Regions from separate parts of the Homo sapiens genome. Here all the other regions are linked to region 3. Evidence: promoter capture Hi-C in 16 types of primary human blood cells and fetal thymus (Javierre and others, 2016). All regions are on one chromosome and are shown on one strand. The core of a region is centred on a gene start or on the middle of the fragment in contact, and the rest is flanking DNA. Distances in the headings are between cores, read along the strand shown.

Region 1 (3,880 bases), core at 579-3,078, 200 kb after region 3:
TGCGTTTCCATTCAAACACCTCTTTTGTTTACTTCCCAGGAGATGGTATGATGTAATGAAATGGAGATGGGCCACAGAGTCTGACTTGACCGAGGTTCAAATCCTAGGTTTGCCACTTAGGAGTATCATGACCTTGGGCAATGTACCTCACCTCTGTGGACTCAGTTTCCTTACCTGTGAAATGAGGTTGCATTGAATCTCCAGACTGCTGTAGGGCCTAAAGGACATAATATATTGAAAGTTCCTAACATCACCCCTGGCACCCCCTGGTGCTCAGCACAAATGACCTTTCCTTCCTTAACCCTTTCCCTCCTGTCCTGGAGAATATCTGTTGACTGGTAAGTTACCTCCAGATGAGTAAATCAGGGTGTGTCGAGGTATTAATATATATTTGAGCCAATTTGCTTTTTAAGTTTTCTTTGTGCGTGTGCTAACAAATTGTAAAGGCATCAAAGATTCTATTCACTACTTTCCAGTTCCTTGGCCACCCCCCTCTGCCACCGTTAGGCTGAATCAGCTCTGGTCCTGAGTCCCCCACCAGAATGACTATGTCTGGGGCCAATAAAGTCCATTGCCCATCCCAGGGGGCACTATTGGCCATCATTAACATTAAATTCTATAGTCCTGGCCGGAGCGAGAACCCATTCTCTCCCCAGTCACCAGGACAGGACCAGCAGGCTGGGAATGTCACTTTATTTGGATTTGGTTCATGGGATGGGGGTCTCAGAACAAATTGGAAGGCCTCACACCGGCAACTGGGCCCAACCAGCTGGGCTCCTGACCCGGGACCTCGTTCTGGCCTGTCTCCCCAAAGCTTATCCACCTAGGATGAGTGCCTTGAAAGTGTACCAAAAATAGAAGTGGCGACGTTTTCAGGAGTTGGTGAAGTCTGACCTTTTACCCTTAGTGAGTCTGTGTAAGGCGTGAGACAACATGGTCTGTCGTCCTTTACGTGCAGGTTTTGGGCAGATGTGCAGATGACGCATCTACCTGCCTTGGGTGTAGTGTGGCGGCCACCAGACCAAGCCTCGTCCAGCTGCCTTCTGCTGAACAGCTGTGGACCCATAAAAGGAAATGCCAGACCTCCCAGCTCTTGCCTCAGAGACAAGCCTCCCTCACATCTATCTCCTCCACCAGCCCTCCCCTGAAAACTGAATTTAAAATCAAGCAGGGCTAGGGAGTCACCGCTCCTGGGGTGTTTTCAGGAATTATCACAGGCCCTGTTCAAAGTGTATAATGTTCTTAAACTGACAGGATTAGGGGATTAAAATTGTATACATTCTAGAATCCAGGTATCAGAAACTCTCTTGAGAAAAAAATGCCTGGCTTGGTGGAGGGGAGTTAAAGTGCTGTAATATCTAGCAGGTGTCTTCAAAGGCCTGCACATGGCCCACGCATTGTCTAACTATGCACTTGTTCATGTGTTGCTTCATTCATTCATGCACATTTATTCATTAGATTGTTTATTTGTTCACACATCAAAATAATATTTCTTGAGCACCTATTATGTGCCAGACACTGAGCTGGGTACTGGGGTTGCTGGGGCAAATGTGATGGCCCAACTTTGCCTCTTCAATACCCACTCCCCATTCTTCTGGCATCAACATCCTGAATTTGTTTAGGGGACAGCCCATCCAATGGACAGAGCCTGAGTGGGGCCCACATCCAAGTGGGGCCTGCCCTTCTGTGGCCCAGTGCAGGCCAGTCAAGAGTATTCCCCCTGGAATTGGAATCTTGAGCAGCATAACATGACAGGGACAAAGGATTACTCTTCATGTATAGCCCTGGCACCCCCAGAGACTCTCCATGTGCCCCTGCCCTGGATCACTGCTGTTCTCTGAACCCAGTCTGGTTTTTATTCTAATTCTTTGAGCTCTCCCAAATCCTCCCAATCAATTTTGCTTTGCTTAAGTAAGCCAGTTTTATTTCCGTTACTAGCAACTCCAGAGCCCTAATATATTCTCTATCCCCCAAGAGCTCACAGTCTCGTAGGACAGACAAGTAAACCAATGATTTGGGCTCAGATACCCTTATAGCAATTACACTGAGCGTTCTGAGAGCCCAGAGGAAGGGCCTTGATTAATTTCTTAGCCTCAGTTTCTCTTTAAATGAAGAGCCCTGTAAACCACTCCAGGTATTCCAGTTATTCATTGCTTTATAATATACCATCCACAGCTGTATGGCTTAAAATATGGATGCATTATTGTCTCCTGTGGTTCTGGGATTTGACTGGACTCAGCCAGTTCTTGCGTAGGTTCTCTTATGCTGTTTGTAGTTGGATTCAGCTGGGGTTGGAATTATCTGAGGGCTTGACGTTGCAGGACGTCCAAGATGGCTCACACAGCATGATGACCTGCTGGTCGTCAACTGGGAGCATGGCTAAGGCTGTCCCTGGGAACATCCATATATGGCCTCTCTGTGTAAAGAATTTTACAACACAGAGTGCTCCAAGATCAACCCCAGAGACCCCAGTGGACACTGCAAGGCTTCTTATGACCTAGCCCTAGAAGTCCCAGAATACCACTAATGACCACTTTATATTTGTCAAGCAAGTCTGTAAGGCCAGCCCAGATTCCAGGGGAGGCAAATTAGACCCCACATCCTAATGAGAGAATGAGACAGTCCTACTACAGGTACAGCATGTGGGATGGGAGCTACTGTTGTGGCCATCTTTGGGAAACATGATTTCTCTCACCAGGTATTCCTTCTAGAACATTCCTTGGGCTACTCACATGCCCAAAATAGGTGGCAGATCTTTGGTGCTTGATCCTAAGTCTCTCCTATGTTAGATGTGACTAATTACTTTGGAAATACCAGTCCCCAGAGTCTTCTGGCATTGTCATGAAGCTTTGTCAACAGAATCAGACCAACCCTCAAAGCTTTAGATTCAAACTCTGTGTTTTCGTCTCAGTTCTAACGCTGAGTTGCTGTGTGAACTTGGTAAGTTGCTTCATCTCTCTGACCCTCAATTTCCTGCTCTGTAAAGGTGACTATTAAACATAGCAGTCCTGCTGAACTCCTGGGATTATGGTGAAAACAAAATGAAATTTTGCAAGTGAAGGAGATTTGTTAACTGTAAAGACCAGGGCACACATAGCAGATTATGGTGATGCCGGCTCCATTGAGGAAGGCACTTTCTATACATTACTCTCCCCAAATCCCTGTAAGGCAGGCAGGCAGCCTTGTAAGTGAGGAAATTAGCTCAAATTCCATTTCTTATTTAAGCCACTTGCTATAAAATTTGAGTCCAGATCTTCTGCAGGCCCCAATCCCTGAGTGGGCTTTTTTTCTTTTTCTCCTTTCCTTTTTTTTTTTTTTTTTTTTTTTTTTTTGGGACAGTCTCGCTCTGTCACCCATGCTGGAGTGCAGTAGCATGATCTTGGTTCACTGAAACCTCCACCTCCCAGGTTCAAGCGATACTTGTGCCTTAGCCTCCCAAGTAGCTGGGATTACAGTCATGCGCCACCATACCTGGCTAATTTTTTTTAGTAGAGACAGGGTTCTGCCATATTGGCCAGACTGGTCTTGAACTCCTGGCCTCGAGTGATCTGCCCACCTCGGTCTCCCAGAGTGCTGGGATGACAGGTGTAAGCCACCGCACCCGGCCCCTGAGTGGGCTTTTTAAGAGTTGCTTTTTCATTGTTAAAGAAACTAGAAGGACCTGGGTGTGGGTAAATCCCCACAGATTCTAGCTTAGAGTGGGTGCTTCATCCATAAGTGTTGGTTGAATGAAAGAATGATGGATGAATGAATGCATGATTAACGACCAACCTGGCATTTTGCTCAGGACACCTTCCGGACCTTTGAAAACTCAATTGAACCTCTCGTTATTCTTGTATTACTTGATTTCTTTCAGTTTAAAAACACGTAGTTCAGGTAG
Region 2 (3,861 bases), core at 1,038-3,537, 240 kb after region 3:
CATGGCGAGCATCCCACCTGGAGCAGTAGCCCCTGATTAAGCACATGCCACAGGGAGCTGGTAGGGGGAGTGTGAAGATTTGGGACTAATCATAAGTATTGTTGTAGAAAATATCAAAGTTCACTGTCTTTGTCTACCAAATTTGCTTCGATGAGCGTGCATTACACTTTCAATCAGAAACAAATTTAGCTATTATCACTTTGAAACAAAAATAGTGCTTAGAAAACAAGAGAGGATTATTATGAGGAGTAAACAAGGTTTAAACATGTCAATGCATGAGGAAGAACATTACAAGCTGCCCAGAAGCCTGGGGGATGATGTGCTAAGAATCAGGCCCCCAGCTAGATGTGAACAGCCCCCTCTCCATCAGGCCTGCAGTCTGCTTTGGATCTGGCTATGCTGCTGCGACATCACCCTGACGTTAGGATCAGGTGTTAACTCACCCCTTATCCCTCTGGAGCCCCAGTGCTCGCATGGTGAATGAGTTTCAGGCAGCAAAACCACAGCCCTCCTCACTTTGAGGGCTTCTCTTTGCTTTCCCCTTTATCCAACCCCCAGAAATTTACTTCTCTTGTGTCACAATAGACTGAGGGCTCCTCAGAGGGCAAGGCCACATCCCCAAAATATATCATAAGAGCACCCACAAAAATAAGAGTCAGTACTACTTTTTTGAGCATTTATTATGCTCCAGGCATGGTGCTAACTGCATTTTTATATATTAGCTAATTTAATGCTTCTGGTGACCCCATGAGTTTGTGTATGAGTTTCCTATTGCTGCTGTAACAAACTACCACATACCTGGTGTCTGAAAATAGCACAAATTTATTCTCTTACACTTACAGAGCTCAGAAGTCCTAAAATGGTACTAAAAATCAAGTCAGTAGGCCTATGTTCCTTCTGGACGATCTAGAGGAAAATCTGTTCCTTGCCTTATGCAGCCTCGAGAAACCGTGTGCATCCCTCAGCTTGTGGCTCCCTTCCAGCAATGAGGATAAAAAAATGGATGGGGATATGGATGCATGTATGGAAGGGTAGATGGAAAGATGGACAAATGGAAGGATGGATGGATGCATGGATGGATGGAAGGATGGATGGATAGTTGGATGAATGGATGGCTGGATGATGGATGGATGAATGGAAGGATGAATGGATGTATGGATGTGTGGATGTATGGATGGATGAGTGAATGGAGGGTTGAAGGTATGTATGTATGTATGGATGGATGGATGGATGGTTGGAGAGATGAACAGAGGATGGATGGATGGATGAATAGATGGTTGAATATATGGATGGATGATGGATGAATGGATGGAAAGATGGATGGATGGTTGGATAGATGGATGGGTGAATGGATGGCTGGCTTGATGTATGGATATATGTAAGGATGGATGGATGGATGGATGGATGGATGGATGGATGGATGGATGGATAGATGGATAATTGGATGGATGGATGGATGGATGGATGGATGGATGGATGGATGGATGAATGAATGAATAGACACTCAGAAAGTCTTTAGTCTCCTCTAGATTTCATCTCTGTGGCTGAGACAATGGCAAAGCATTTCTCTTTTCCATCCCCATCCCTGGAGCTGTCGTTTTTCACATCCATCAGCATCAAGATACTTCCCACTAAACTTCGTGGGTGAGAGCCTGTACTCTTTCCAAACCTCTCACTGAACCAGTCCACTCTTGTCATGAGAAAATAAGTATGTCATCTAATTACCAATGATGTCAGTCAAGGAACCTTAAACAAAGAGATTAGTTCTGCTTGTATTTGTTGGTACAATGGACATCATAACATATTTAACAGCATTGTAATGTGGAACAGATGGGAAAGACCCCAGCTTTCGGGGCCTCTCCATCTCTCCCACTTTCTACCAACAGCCAAAACCAAGCGACCTTTTAGAACACTTTATGGGCTGGATGCCTGCCAGAAATTGCTCACCCAGGGGCTGCCAGTACCGGCCCAGCCTGATAATGCCTGCTGGGTTCTTCATTGAAGACGATCAAGTTACAATCCTTGGGAATGCTGGAAATTCCACAGTGGATCTAGATACAATATTGGGGTGAAGCCCTCCCAAGCTTTACCCATTTATCATTGAGTTTCCACCGAGTGCTGATTATGTCATGGGATTTCCATCATGAAACCAAAATCTTGAGAAATCACCAAGGAGTAAATTTCAGTTTGGTTATGTGCTGGGCAACCTTGGATAAATTAGTCATCTCTCTGAGCCTGTGTCTTCAGCTGCAAAATAAGGGAGAAGAGCCAGCTGGACTAGTCATGAAGCCTGAGTGAGACAATGTCTGTAGAAGCCCAATAGGCACACAGCAGGTGCTCAAACTAATCTCGGCCCACGTGGGTGAGGGACTGAGTTTAGAACTCTAGATCTATTGAGAAACATTTCACATGCACCTAGTCTGTGGACCTGCATCCCACACAGAATTTTAGAATTTTTGAAATGAAAGGAATCTTGGGGACTATTTAAACCAAAGCTTGAAAAGCAATGGTCCGTGGGCCACACCCAGCCTGACAGCACATGCGTACACACGCATGTTAGCACAGGTATTTTTTAACAATATTCAAATTAGTTGCCACCTAAAAAATTTTTTTAACATTATAATGTGAAATCTTGAATGATTGAGAAACTGTCACTCTAATCCAAAGCCCACATCCCCACATGGCAATGATTGGACAAAGATCCCAACCTTCCCTCTTTCAGGATGTTTTTACACTTGGTCTGGGGATGTGGTTTGGATTTGTTTCCCTGCCCAAATCTCATGTCGAATTGTAATCCCCAATGTTGGAGGAGGGGCCTGGTGGGAGGTGACTGGATCATGGGGGCAAACTTCACCCTTGCTGTTCTTGTGATAGTGAGTTCTCATGAGAGCTGCTTGTTTAAAAGTGTGTAGCAGAGGCTCGCTGTCTTCCTCCTGCTTCAGCTACGTAAGTCGTGCCTGCTTCTTCCTCACCTTCTGCCATGATTGTAAGTTTCCTGAGGCCTCCCAATCCACGCTTCCTGTAGAGCTTGTAGAACCTGTGAGAGAATTAAACCTCTCTTCTTTATAAATTACCCAGTCTCAGGTAGTTCTTTATAGCAGTGCGAGAACAAACTAATACATCTGGTCTGCTCAGATGTTTCCTGTTTGGGTTCTGTAGGCATGTTAGTTCACAGACCCAGATTGAGAGCAATTCCTTCCCCTTTATAGATAATGAAACTGAGGCCAAAGTGAAGATGACAATAAGCCCCTCCCTACGACGGTCATGGGAGATATCACCAAGAGATCATGCAGTTCTTTCCTTGATCACAGCCTCAGAATCCCTCTTAACACAGTGCTCTGTGTTGGCAGCCATTCAGATAACCAATCAGGTACCTCAGGGATAAGAGATTTTGCTCAGGGTTCCCTAACTCTGCTCTATTAACCTTAAGGGCTTGCTCTCATCTGCTCTTGATAGTTTTGGGATTGCAAATGAGGAGACATAAACAGTGGGTTTGCTTCGTTGCTGTGTTGCAGGTTTGGAACAAGAGATCACTGGAGGGCAGGGCTGGACGGCAGCAAGGCCATTTTCAGGCTATGATCTTGGGGTCACCTTTCTACCTCTCTCAGCCTTGTTTTACTCTTCAGTGGAAGAGACGAAAAAGCATTTGACATTATTGTAAGAATCAAATGAAAGACTGTGGGTGGAAGTGCCTAGCAAACTGTGAAGGTTGCATTATCATTTTATTAGGCATGGTATGCAGTACCCATAAGGCAAAGGTCTCCCTCTCTGACTTCCTTGACTCCAGGGTAAATTTGAATTTTGACATATATTAAAATGTAGCTTGGGAGATATTCTGGCAACCGCACACTGTATGTTTTG
Region 3 (3,950 bases), core at 538-3,037:
GAGTAAATCTATAAACCTATGTTACCATGATCAATGTTTATAGTGACCATGTTAAAAGCAATCTTTAGTTTTTTGTTTTTTTATCTATTGAGTTTTATGGAATATGCCCTAAAATGAAGTTTTGAAATAATTGTGTATGTATGTGCATGTACACAGCACATATTACATATAATACACACGTGCCACAGGTAGCTTTAAAGTAGACTTTGCAAAATAAACTGGCTATTCCAGAACCTAATTTCCAAAGATATCAATAATATTGAAAATTACTATTCTCTAGGACCTGGCTTATCCCGAACCCATCTTTTAATAAACTGAGTTTTTTGGTGAGGATGTATATTTTTATTTAGAAAACTTAACGTTTACACCAATACATATTCAATATAGCTAACCTGTTTTAACAGCACATTTTTAACAATATTTTCCGAGTTGCTTAAATCCTAACCTGAGTCCTTTTCCACTGTTTGAAAACAAGCACCACGAAGACACCTGACAATCAGGATTGTAAAGATTCAGAATATTCGAAGACAGAAGCATAGGCGTCCAAGTGATCCTCTTTCATCAGATGAATGTTTTTAAAACCTGAAAGTCCTAAGAACACTTACTTATCGTGTAGACCAGTAACGTGTCCCTTTAACCACAACTCTCTCCACAAAAGCACGGAGTTAACACTACACAAATAGGACCCTCCAACTCATCTCCACGTTTCCGCGGATCTTCAGGTTCCTAAGGACACACTCAGTGGTTTGCTGGCTCTGACCTCCAGGCAGAGCCATCAGGGCAACTCAGCTTTTCTGGACAATCTACAGAAATCTGATGTGCTAACTTAAAACATACACTGATTTCCCCAAAATCAAAAACCCTGAAGAAAGGGTCCTCCGCAGGGTCTAGGCATTTTGGCACAAAAACATCTGAGGGGAGAGGCAAAAGAATGGCCTCGGCCCCTGCCCGCCCCCCAGGGCCCCAATCTGGTCCCCTGACAGTAATCACACAGGACCCTCCCGGGAGGGACCGAGAGCCCAGCTTCGTCCCCTCCGGGCGCGGCACAGCGGCCCCATCAGAGGAGGGCCCCAGGGTGCTCCGGCAGGTCAGGCGCGCGTCTCCACCTCCGCTGCTCCCGCGCCACCTTAGCGCGCGTGACGGGACCTGTCAAGAGCCCCAGGCCTCGCCAGGCCGGGGAGTGGACAGGCGCCGGCATCCCCCACCACGCCACGGCGGCCCGGAAAGTCTCCCAGGGCTGCCTCGCGGGGAGGCGCCGGGGTCCGGGCCCAGGAGCAGAGCCGAGGCGGGCAGACGCCGGGTCCACAGGCCGCGCTGTGCGGGACGACGAGGCAGGCGAGGCCGCGCCCTTCGTCAGCGCCCGCCAGGCCCGGACGCGCGGCTCGGGGCCATGGCCGGCACGCGGGCCTCCGCGCGGAGGCGGGAGCGCGGCCAGGCGACCCGCTCCCCGCCCCGGACACAAAGCTGCTCCGCGGGAGCCCGCCTCACCTGCAGCACGGGGCGCCGCGGGCCTTCGAGAACCATCGGACCCCGCTCCGGCGCGCGCGTCACAGCCCAGGCCTCCCGGAGCCGCCCGGCGCCGCCGCCCCCGCCGCCATTTCCTCGCGCTCGCCGTCGCCTCGTCCCCGCTGTCAGGTTACTCCATTCACCTGGGCCTGCAGCAGCCTGCGCCGCGCCTCCGCCTCGACCCCTCCCGCCGGCGCCTGCGGAGACTGCGCAGCGCCCGGCTGGCCGGCAGCCAGCGCACGGCCCGCGGCAACGGCGCACAGCCGCTTGGAGAATCCCACTGGCTCCCGCACCGCCCCTCCGCGCCCCCACGCTCCGCTCGCCCCGTGGCGGCATGAGAGCGAGCCTGTGATTGGACAGGGCCTGGCGGTGAAAGGTTAATCCCGGCCCCCCAGCCACTCAGGAGCAGGGAGACAGCGGGCGCGCGCGCGGAGGCCGGAGAGGCGTTTGCGGCCCAGCGCCTGGACTGGACCTTGGCGTTGGGCCGCAGTTGCCCGGAGTTTTTGGGGCCCCCGGGAACCCGCGCGCCGAGGCCGGCTAAGTTTGGCAGACTCTCTGAGCTCTCGGAATTCGACTGCCTCCATTGTTGCTCCTTCTGGCACCCACAGACCGTAACGTGGCCGTAATTGTTTCCCGGAGAGCTTAGCTTCCCTCTGAGCACCTCCCTCCCCTTTTTAAAGTACCTTCCCACTCGCCTGCGTTTCCTCGCGTTAGTGGTGCAGGGGCCTCCGCATTTGGGGAAATAACAAACACCCACTTCCGCCCCCCACCCCAACCGGGATCCCCAGATAATGAGAAATAGATGGTGGCCCTCTGTTTGTAAGCTGTTCATTTGCATAGGTCGGAACCGCGCACCACAGCTTGAAGCTAGGAATTAAAATATCGGTGGGAATTAAATAAGTGGCTGGCTTAAAGAACATCTTCTTAATTTATCCCCAAATGTAGACATCTCTTCAGTGGACCCCCTGATAGGCCGGTTTGCTCCAGGTGAGGTGTGCTCACAGCAACTGCAACCGTGTTTCTTTCAGACCATGGGCGTGAGCAGAACCTACTATGCGCCCCTGCTGCCTGGGCTGTGCTGTTCAGTTTGGGGCCACCAGCCCCACATGGCTCCTGAGCACTTAAAGTATGGCTAGTCGGAATCGAGATATATGCATTCTTTACCAAATAATGTTCAAAAAATTGTTACATGTTGAAGTGATAAACTTTTTCCATATATTGGGATAAAAGTTTTATTTGTTTATTTTTTAGTGTGGGTTCTACAGAATTTTAAATGTCACCTGTGGCCTGCATTATATTGCCATTGGGCAGGCTGATCTAGGGCTTGCATGCCTGTGATCCTTAGGTGCACCCTGTGAGGTAGGTGCTTTAACTGTGTGCACCCTGTGAGGTAGGTGCTTTAACTGTGTGCACATTGTGAGGTAGGTGCTGAAACTGCTTCCTGTTTTTTTTTTTTTTTTCTTTTGAGACGGAGTCTCACTCTGTCTCCAGGCTGGAGTGCAGTGGTGCGACCTGGGCTTACTGCAATCTCCGCCTCCCAGGTTCAAGTGATTCTCCTGCCTCAGCCTCCCGAGTAGCTGGGATTACAGGGGCACGCCACCACACCCAGCTAATTTTTGTATTTTTAGAAGAGACGGGGTTTCACCATGTTGGCCATGATGGTCTCGATTTCTGACCTTGTCATCCGTCCGCCTTGGCCTCCCAAAGTGCTGGGATTACGGGCGTGAGCCACCGTACCCAGCCTGCTTCCTGTTTTAACAGACGAAGAAATGGAATAACTTCCAACAAGTAAGTAGCCAGTAAGTGAACAACTGAGATTTGAACCCACGTAGTCTGGCTTTGAGGCTGGTGTGCTCAGTCATTACTGTGCTAAAATTTTGATAATATATTTACTATGAATTGGCTTAAGGTTTCACTTGAAAGTAGCATATTTATGGGCAAAATTAGGAAGTAGGATGCTCCTGGCAGACCCATGTATTTAAAAAAGTAGTTTCTTATATGTCAAGCACGGTGAGCATGTCATACCTTTAAGACCCCAGTCATACATATAAGGTTTTCTTTGTAGCTAGGAATTAAAATATCGGTGGGCGTTAAATAAGTGTCTGGCTTAAAGAACATCGTCTTAACTTATCCCCAAATGTAGATATCTCTTCGGTGGACTCCCTGATAAGCCTTTATGAGAAGGACAGCATCTCAGTATGGGGGTAGGCACTGGACTCTATTGGCAGTGGAAATTTGTGGGCTGGTACAACTTCAGCCCCTCTGGTTGCCCTCTTGCAATCTGTCAAGACTAGCCAGGCTGCTTGTTCCATCAGCAGGTATACCTGATTTTTTTATTTTTTTAATTTTATGTATTTGTTTTTTTCTTTTTTGAGGCAGAGTTTCACTCTTGTCGCCCAGGCTGGAGTGCAATGGCGCAATCTCGTCTCACTGCAACCTCTGCC

What was found. Contacts are between HindIII fragments. The CHiCAGO score rates a contact against its expected background, and 5 or more counts as called.
Region 1: a contact is called between a fragment that was not itself captured here and the fragment with the promoter of DICER1 in region 3, in 1 of 17 cell types (naive B cells). The highest score is 5.6, in naive B cells.
Region 2: a fragment that was not itself captured here is called in contact with the fragment with the promoter of DICER1 in region 3 in 1 of 17 cell types (naive B cells); the score reaches 5.4 in naive B cells.

The regions. Positions count from the first base shown.
Region 1 is chr14:95,355,618-95,359,497 of GRCh38, forward strand. The region is part of intron 2 of LOC107984710 (a long non-coding RNA gene); the gene reads left to right. Among named protein-coding and RNA genes, the nearest start is that of LINC02292, 28 kb to the left of the region's middle. The HindIII fragment of the contact is 2,033 bases long and covers 813-2,845 here.
Region 2 is chr14:95,393,243-95,397,103 of GRCh38, forward strand. It overlaps LOC105370640 (a long non-coding RNA gene), which reads right to left. Exons shown (of 3, transcript XR_944174.3): 3 at 2,921-3,037. LOC105370639 (a long non-coding RNA gene) reads right to left here and starts at 636. Exons shown (of 3, transcript XR_944173.3): 1 at 444-636. The HindIII fragment of the contact is 411 bases long and covers 2,083-2,493 here.
Region 3 is chr14:95,155,742-95,159,691 of GRCh38, forward strand. It overlaps DICER1 (dicer 1, ribonuclease III), which reads right to left and starts at 1,788. Exons shown (of 27, transcript NM_177438.3): 1 at 1,489-1,788. DICER1-AS1 (DICER1 antisense RNA 1) reads left to right here and starts at 1,947. Exons shown (of 4, transcript NR_015415.1): 1 at 1,947-2,117; 2 at 2,452-2,493; 3 at 3,135-3,294. RefSeq lists silencers at 1,079-1,438, 1,499-1,958 and enhancers at 2,049-2,148, 2,189-2,258. The HindIII fragment of the contact is 7,422 bases long and covers 1-3,950 here.